2 separate regions of the Homo sapiens genome follow, and region 2 is linked to region 1. The links are contacts of gene promoters, found by promoter capture Hi-C in blood cells and fetal thymus (Javierre and others, 2016). All regions are on one chromosome and are shown on one strand. The core of a region is centred on a gene start or on the middle of the fragment in contact, and the rest is flanking DNA. Distances in the headings are between cores, read along the strand shown.

Region 1 (4,825 bases), core at 1,502-4,001:
AAAATATTTTTGACTTTTTATGTCTCTCTTCTCCTTCTGAAGTTTCTATACTTTCTATACCATATTCTTGGTGGTGTCTCAAAGGTCTCATGCTTTCTTTGCCACTTTTTATTCTTTTTTTACTCTAATTTGTTAATTTTAAAAGACTCTTTTTTTGAGTTCACTAATTCCTCTGCATGATTGAGTCGGGCATTAAAACTCTCTATTGACTTATTTATTTCTTTCATTGTGTTCTTCAGCTCCAGAATTTTTGTTTGGTTCTTTTTAATAGTTTATATTTCTTTATTAAATTTTTATTTTGTTCATGTATTTTTTGTTTTAGTTGTATTTTTTGTTTACTCTTTTCTTTTGCATCTCACTGAGATTTTTTAAGATGATTGTTTTGAATTACTTTAAAGGAAACTTATAGATCTCCATTTATTTGGATCAGTTGCTAAAGCTTTATTAGTTTCCTTTGGTGGTGTCATATTTGTCTGATGCTTTGTTATTTGTTTATCCTTGTACTGATGTCTGTGCATTTGAAAGAGCAGACTCTCTTTCAGTCTTTACAGACTGGTTTCGGTAGGTTAAAAGCTTCTCCTGTTAGTGTCCTGGGCTGATGAGATTGCCTTCAGTATCATGGTTGAATGGGGTTACAGCCAGATCACATGGTTGCTTACGGGTCCAGAGTGGGATCTTTGGTTCATGATCCTTTTACTAGGGCTTCTAGCAGGCTTGTATCCTATTTAGTGCCTCAGAGGGCCAAACTGGCTCTAGAATCATACTGTATAGGGCTGGGGAGGGGATGAGGGTCCACTTCAAGGTCTGTAAATGGTGGGTCTATTATTAGGTGTGTAGTTGGGGAAGAGTTTATCTAGTTTGCTGGGAAGGCTGCTCATGGGTCTCTGAGTGGGTTCCTCAACCTGTGGCACAGAGGAGTTAGTGCTAAGTCACAAGGTTTCCTCGGGGTCTATAGCTGAAACCAGTGTCTTCATGTCTGTCTCTGGGGTCATGGTTGAGTGTGTTTTCTGGCAGGTCTGTGGGCAGGCAGATTTGCCTCAGACTGTAGTTGAGTTGGGCTGGAGCTGGATCCAGAATTGTTTCAAGATCTGAAATAAAACTAAGGTCTGTGCCTGCAGGGGCACTAATGATGTCTCTCTCCAGGTCCCTGTATGGGCAAACTGCTCTCTAGCATAGCTGAGAAGTGTCGAAGCCCCTTTTCTGTCCAATTAAAGGATCTGCTGTGAAACCTAGGTCAATGGTCTCCTAGTTGGGACATGGATGCACATGTCCTCCCTCTGTATCCCTGAGCTGGCAAGACTGCTCACAGTCCACAGCTGAGAAGGGTGAAGGTCAAGATTCAAGGCTGTTTCAGAAACTACCGTGGAACTGAAGTCAGCAAGCCTGTACTGCTGACAAAGATGATTGAGTCTCACAGCAATTTCCTGTGATTAACTCAGGTCACAGTTGAGAGGAGTTTGAGTGGAGATTCAGGGCCATTTTAGTATCTTCTGTAGGACAGAGGTCAGCAAGCATGCCCCAGAGGTACAGATGTATATGTCTCCCAGGAAGTCTCTGTGGGTGAAGGACTGATCTCAAGTTGTGGCTGACACTAGTTAAAGCCAAGTTAGAGGGCTGTTTCAGGGTCTACATTGAGACTACAGTTGATATGCCTACCTCCTGAGACACTAGTGTGTGAGTCTCCTCCTGGGCCCCTGGGCAAATGGTTTTGGCAGCATGACCAAGGCCTAAATGGGGCTGAAGGCAAGCACAGGAGGATGGGTCCCTTTTCAGGTCTGGAGATGGAATCACTGTTGGTAAGTCTGCCACTTGGATGCAAATCTATTCCCTAAAACAACCTTCCTAGGTCTTGGGTTCCACTGGCATTTTACAAACTCCTACTTGAATTCCAAACTCCCTCAAAGGAACTTTTGTCTGTGGATGGCTGAAAAATTATTGTTGCTGTGGGGGCATATGTGTGGGGGACCACCTATTCTGCCAATTTACTGACTTTCCTCCTAGTAAGATTTTAAAATTACTTTTTCCCCATACATAGTTTGACTTCAGTTTTTGTCATTTACAACTAAATATTTCTATGAAAGTCGACATAATTTGTTATGGCGGAGGATGAATAAATGAAGAATGTAATGAATAGCTATTTAATATTTCAATTTCTGGTATGCTAATATATTTCAAAATTGATTAATATTTTACCTATCCAAGATATTTTTATCAAGGGTAATCTGAAGATTAAATAATCTATTTTTAAAAATTAAGTGCAAAAATTTAAGAACTAAGAGAAGTTAATAATATAACTTTGGCAATGATGCTTTTTGTGCCAGCTACAATCAATTGAGTAATTACTGCAGTAATTTTTCAGAATAATTAAGGAAAAAATCAGTAGATATCAGTTGATAATATTACTATGAGTTTTAGAATGTTTTCTATTATAATGGAAGTGACATAATAAAATAATATAAAGAAAAGAAGTATGCAATGTTAAGATTTAGCAACCTAGTCTAAAAGGCACTCTTAACAAGGTGAGGGTTGACAATGTTCGTGATCAAGACAGAAAAAAAAAAAATTCTCATAGGCACTTGAAAAATGAACCAACTAAATGACACACTTTCAAAGTCAACCTTGTACTTTTAATAGACCAAGTATCCTATATTTTGGAGGTGTGTGATGAGATAAAACTGATTTCACAATAGCCCATGTGTAGAATTTCCTGTTCAAACCTTAGTAACACGTTGATGAGAAATCTACTTTTTCCACTCTTGACTCACTCTGAGCCTTCACAGGGCAGTCTGCGAAGATTGCAGGCATTGTTTGTTCTTGTCTTGGATTTATGCCTTTAAATTTCACCTTTTATTACACAGCTATAGCAGGCCTTTTTATGAGACTAACCTGGCCTCTCCACTAAAGGATGTGTGACTTTCTGGGGACAGAAGGTATGTATTGCTACTCTCCAACTCTCTACTAGCCTACCTCATTTAGTGGGTGATTTCAAGTGCTCAATATGATACAAAGGAGGTATAATTAATATACAATAAAATCAAAGTAGAATATTGCTGTCTTCATTTGAATAACTCAGGGTAAAAACCTAAAATATGAAATATGTTGAAGGATTTCTTAAAGTTTTCAAATTATTGTTTGTGGAAATCTAGTGGGTTTGTTGATCAATATCGTTTAAGGGAAAGCTATTAACATCACAATAATGAACAATTAATTTTGTATTTTGTAATCAGTACATCATGTATCTTTGAATAATAATTTATATTTAGCTTAGCCATTAAAGATTATTAAAATAAATCAATCAATTGATGAAAGCCAAATACAATTCCTCAGACACGTAGATTAGAGAAAAGCAGTTTTTATTTTTAATAAAAATCAGAATGAGGTAGATTACATAAAATGCTAAAGGTATTACAAAGCAATAAAAATACTTTTTAAAAATTGATCAAAATATTGCAAAAAAAGATGTAGCGCATGGACATAGGAGACTTATCTGAAGATTTATTTTCCATGCTTTAACTGACATGAATCAGAAACAGTAACATAACAATTGTGACTAAAATAATAATTAAAGTAGCTAATGCTTATTGAGAACTTTAAGTGCCAGGTTGAGTGGTAAATGTTTTACATGCAACGTTTTATATGTTCTTATGCCCATTTTAGATTAACAAACTGGGTTATTAAAAATAGAATAACTTTTTAAAGGTCGCACATTATAAGTGTCAAAGCTAGAATTAATTCTAGATCTCACTGACTCCAGAGCCCATTGACTAAATGATTTAATTACATTATCTGAAATTTTACAAGTACTTATACAACTAAAGTGGCCTTTACTCACTTTGACAACCATAAAATCATTCTATAAGTTTAAATGAAATGTGCTTTAACATGAATTACCTATACTTTTATTTATCATTTTTTGGTTCATAATTTAGCCAGGAAATAAATTACCAATTACTAATTAAATTACCAATACTTCTGTAAGTATTAACAATTTATGTAGTGTTCCTAATACTATTTAGGTTATGCATAAGTTAACTGTGTCACATAGCATTTTCTGTCATATACAAATATTTAATTTTTTATAATTTTTAATAAATAATTTTTAATAATTTCTTAGAACATTTCAGCCATTAAGAAAAGACCATTTAATTACCTCTATTGATTTTCATTAATGTGTATAAATTACTAATTAAAAGTAATGTAGTGCAAGAAATTTTTATATATATATATGTCAACTTTACTATTACTCATGTGCAGACCACATAGTCTTAACCATTACTGGATTTCAAAATTAACATAAAAATGAGTGCAGAAGTTTTTCTAATACAACATTTTAATTTTTAACACAGGTAAAACATCAGACTTTAAGAAATATATTTTTATTCCTGAACTTCTTTATTCCTTAGTAATTTATTGCTTCTCATTGCCCCAGCAATAATATTTTGTCAAATGCAGAAAATTTATCTTTTTTTTTTGAGTCGGAGTCTCACTCTGTCGCCCAGGCTGGAGTGCAGTGGCACAATCTCCGCTCACTGCAACCTCTGCCGCCCATGTTCAAGAGATTCTCCTGCCTCAGCCTCCCGAGTAGCTAGGACTACAGGCGCCTGACATCATGCCCGACTACTTTTTGTATTTTTAGTAGAGACGGAGTTTCACCGTGTTAGCCAGGATGGTCTCGATCTCCTGACCTCGTGATCGGCATGCCTCGGCCTCCCAAAGTGCTGGGATTACAGGCGTGAGCCACCGCGCCCGGCCTAAAAATCTTTTTTTAAAACAAATATTCATAAGAAACGTGTTTAGGCTTGAAGAAAATCAGAGAAAGAACTTT
Region 2 (4,825 bases), core at 771-3,270, 210 kb after region 1:
TGTTAATATTTGTTAATGATTTTGTTCATATCACTATGAAAAGAAAAATTATAAATGTATCCCACATTAGTAAAATGAAATCAGCTTGACATTGACAATTCAAATGCCACTGTAAATATCATGGTCAACACTTCAGAAGACAAATCAAAATGGAGTGTTGAATGAGAAATTAAAATCAGCACATATATCCCATTTTTCTCATATTGCTCTCATTTGACTAGAAGCTGCAAGACAGTCACTCTTCTCTGAAAAAAAAAAAAAAAAAAACAGCAAGAACAGTAACAAAGAAATCCAGTCATCCAGTCAATTATGGGAGAAGTTTCTCCAGTTCAACAAGAGGAATCGAATGACCTATAAGAATACAGCAACTCAGATTGTGATGTCATGAAAGCCTGCTTTCCAACACCACAGGAAGAACTTTCAGATGCAAGCAGATTTCTGAGGAAATACTTACATACTGACGGGTTAAGAGAACATCATGTTTGCAAAGTACTTTAGTAAACAGTACAAAAATATCCATTCTATATGTGAATGTGTGCATATACATGTATGCATATATATATACATACACATATATAAACAAATATGCACATATACACACATACTATCCAATATCAGCCTTAACCTTCTCCTGATCTTAACTGAAATTTTAGACAAATTTCTTCCTAACTATAGTTCTCTGGCCTCCCTTTTCTTATAGTATTTACTTTAGAAAACTTGCAATTATAAATTATTTCTCAGCCGCTTTGAGGTGTAAATCTTTTCCAACCTATTGCCAGTTTTACAACTCAGTAATGTCATTTTCAAGGACCTAGAAGCCTTCTCTTTGAAATGTAACCAAGAAAGATTACGTAAAGCAAATGTAGCACATTAACATTTAAGAAGTCTGAGTCAAGACTAGCTATTTACACATTCTTTGTCTCTTTCTCACAACTTTTTCTGTAAGTCTGAAATTATTTTTATTTTATGAAAGTAAAAAATCGCTCCCCTCCTGAGTTTATTCATTAATTAGAAAGCTGATAAAGAAAAGAATCAAGTACTTCTCCTGCAAACTCTTATACAAACCGTAACAAAGAGTAACCTAATAATTGATGAGGTGAAGTCGCTATTTATGAAAGTACTTCAGCCAATAAATGAATAGGGAATGATTGAATTAAACTTTCAACGTTTTGTGTCATGAATTAAGGGACCTAGTTAATGACCATCAGTTGCTGCTGACATTACATAAAAGAGACACTAGATAGTAAATGCCTCTGAATGTAACTACACAACTCTTATTATGAAATAGTAGGGCTTTTTGCCCCTCATAAAATTATTCCAACTTGAATCTTACCAAGTATCTACCTTGCTACCAATACACAGGATATATATAGAAAAAAGAAGAAGATGTTGAACTACATACGGAGGTGCAATCAGCAAATCAAGACTGTGGAAAACCCTAAAAGACAAATGACTCAATTCATGCAAGCAACAAAAACAATAGCAAAAACAAAGGTAAAAGATATAACTAGTCACCATAGTGAATCCCTGTATAATTTACTTAAAAACAGAAAATGTACTGACTTAAATGTACTTAAAAATCAGGGAAATGTACTGACCGATAAAATCACATGATGTCTGATATTTCACCTTGATTGGAGAGTGAGTCGATGCTTGTTGAAGCTGGGTGATGGGCACGTGGTAGTTTACTCACTCATGGGAGATACACACTCACCTTGATTGGGGAGTGAGTTGAAGCTGGGTGATGGGCACATGGTAGTTCATTAAGTTATTATGTCTATATTACTTAATGTTTACATTTTTTCATAACAAAAATTCAAATAATATAAAAACTCTTGTCTCTACATTAGTCACTGGGAGCAGAGAACGTAAGTGAAGATCTATTCTACTAATTTCATCATGGTCAGAATAAGATCATGGCATGAAGCTGAACAATGAAAGCAAAGAAAAAAAAAAGGCATGTAGAAAATAGAAATGAGGGCTGGGCATGGTGACTCAGCCTGTAATCCCAGCACTTTGGGAGGCAGAAGCGGGCAGATCGCTTGAGCTCAGGAGCTCAAGACCAGCCTGGGCAACATGGCAAAACCCTGTGTCTACAAAAAATACAAAAATTAGCCCAGCATGATGGTGCGCACCTGTGGTCCCAGCGACTTGGGGGGCTGAGGTAAGAAGGTAGCTTGAGCCTGGGAGGTTGAGGCTGCATTGAGCTGAGATCACGCCACTGCACTCCAGCCTGGGTGACAAAGTAAGAACCTGTCTCCAAAAAAAAAAAGAAAGAAAGTAGAAATGATTATCCCGGAACACCTTGACAATCCCACCTGTGGTAATTTTCTTCTAGAGCAGATTACTATGGTGAAACCAAGCAGTAAAATTTAGCATTGGGCAAAATGTTTTAAGAAAGAGAAAAAGTGGCTCACGTCTGTAATCCCAACACTTTGGAAGGCTGAGGCGGGCGGATCACTTCAGGTCAGGAGTTCAAGTCCAGCCTGGCCAACATGGTGAAACCCCATCTCTAGTAAAAATACAAAAATTAGCTGGGCATGATGGCGGGCACCTGTAATCCCAGCTACTTAGGAGGCTGAGGCAGGAGAATCGCCTGAACCCGGGAAGTGGAGGTTACAGTGAACTGAGATCATGCCACTGCACTCCAGCCTGGGCAACAGAGTGAGACTCTGTCTCAAAAATGAACGAACAAACAAAAGACAGAGAGAAAGAGAAAAGAAGAAAGAAAGAGAGAGAAAGAAAGAAAGAAAAAGAAAGAAAGAAAGAAAGAAAGAAAGAAAGAAAGAAAGAAAGAAAGAAAGAAAGAAAGAAAGAAAGGGGAGGGAAGGAGGGAAGGAAGGAAGGAAGGAAGAAGGAAGGAAGGAAGGAAGGAAGGAAGGAAGGAAGGAAGGAAGGAAGGAAAGGAAGGAAGGATGGAAAGAAGGAAGGAAGGAAATGCTGCTGCCAAATTGGTATCATCCCCAGAGAGCAAGTCACACCTTTAGTCATGCCTTTTGCCTGGACAGAAGAAGCAATTCTCTATCTTTGTGGTACCTGGGCTTATTAGAACCCGTGCTCCTAGAGATTAATTATACAAGTTTGTTTGCTATATAATAGATTCTCTTACTTTGGAGATTTAATCTGTCCTTGATTCTTTTCCCCATCCTTGGCCACCAGCCCATTAGAAGCCTCATCTCATGATACTGTAAAAATATTTTCTCATCTTTTTTGTTAAATTAAGCTAAAACAGTTAAGTGACCACGTACAACAAAAGATAAAGGAAAAGTCTTTGGTGAAAGTTATCCCCTCATTCTGGCTTTTTAGAATTCTTGAGCTTTTCGAACATCTTAATAACAATAAGGTAAGAACCTAAGACTCCCTTCAAAGGTTTTGAAGTCTGAACGAACTGGAAAAATCCAGGGCCAAGATGTCATAAATATGATCTTCGACCTACCCATTGTTATCCTTGGTTAGGTCAGATTCACACAACTCTAAGTGAAATAATCATTATAATCATGTTCTGGATAAAAAATCTCATAAATTTAGACCCAAATGGGCTGGCTTTGTCTTATCTCACCAACTAAATTTCAACACATCATTTTGTTTGTTGAACTAAAATATGCTAGGCTGTTTTGGACAGGATGTTTCTGGTTCTGTGATATGTTCTCCACACATCATAACTCATTAGGTCAGTGAATGTACTTTTTAAAAATATGACTCTGATTGTCTCTTAATAGTCATATTTATTAAATTTCATTTTCATTGAGATTCAAATTAAATTATCTGCTAAGAATAAGTTCTAAGAATGTGGATTCTTTCTACCTGTTTCTCAATTTGTATATAGAAAAACTTTAAAGGGGAAGTTCCTTCTAGAAAGGTATGGTTATTTAACAAATATTATGTGTGTGTCTGCTAGCCTAGTGCCTGACACATATTTGTAAAGTAGTGAAATTATTCAGTGAATGAAAAAGGGCCAGATGCAATGGCTCACACTTATAGTCTCAGCACTTTGGGAGGCCGAGGCAGGCAGATCACCTGAGGTCAGGAGTTCAAGACCAGCCTGACCAACATAGAGAAACCCCATCTCTACTAAAAATACGAAATTAGCTGGGTGTGGTGGCTCATGCCTGTAATCTTAGCTACTCAGGAAGCTGAGGCAGGAGAATCACTTGAACCCAGGAGGCAGAGGTTGCGGTGAGCTGAGATCACACCATTGCACTCCAGCCTAGGCAACAAAGAGCAAAACTCCATCTCAAAAAAAAAAAAAAAAAAAATAGAAAAAAGAAAAACAGACATGTTCTCTGGCCTCATGGAAACCATATTCTAATGAAAGAAATTATAAAATTTAAGTTAAAAAGCAAATTCAAAATAATACAAGTTCCAATATGTGTTGTAAATGAAACAAAAAAGTGTTTGAGATTGACAGCAACAGCAGAGGGGCCCTAGAAACTTTAACTGGATGATCAGAGATTGTAATATTCATGCAGGATTTTTCTTGGCCCTTTTGCCGGACTCCTAGCACGAGTGCCCCATCTCCTCGGCCCACCATGCTCCGCCCCTTGAGAGAGGTAACACATAAGCAAGTGAGTATGGGATCTGGCCAGCCACTCCAAGCACCAATACAGGAGCAAGCTCCATGCAAAGCCCATGTCCAGACCAGTCATGTTGCCTTGAGGGGAACATGGCAGCCTGGTGCCCATGATCCCAAAGCCCCAGAGGGGGTGTGAGTGTGCTACTTAGCTCTTTTAGTTCCACCATCCACAGTCGATAAACGGCTGTGTGTTAGCAGCTCAGTTGGCCACTGACCCTGTAGCTGCCAGTGGGGTGGTTGCCCTCCACTTGC

Evidence for each region. The method cuts DNA at HindIII sites, captures the fragments that hold promoters and counts their contacts. A CHiCAGO score of 5 or more calls a contact.
Region 2: a fragment that was not itself captured here is called in contact with the fragment with the promoter of KLRC1 in region 1 in 1 of 17 cell types (total CD8 T cells); the score reaches 5.8 in total CD8 T cells.

Annotation. Positions count from the first base shown.
Region 1 is chr12:10,451,303-10,456,127 of GRCh38, reverse strand. It overlaps KLRC1 (killer cell lectin like receptor C1), which reads left to right and starts at 2,751. Exons shown (of 7, transcript NM_002259.5): 1 at 2,751-2,930. The HindIII fragment of the contact is 4,540 bases long and covers 576-4,825 here.
Region 2 is chr12:10,237,514-10,242,338 of GRCh38, reverse strand. It overlaps a transcript of KLRD1 not described here. Among named protein-coding and RNA genes, the nearest start is that of GABARAPL1-AS1, 25 kb to the right of the region's middle. The HindIII fragment of the contact is 5,718 bases long and covers 1-4,825 here.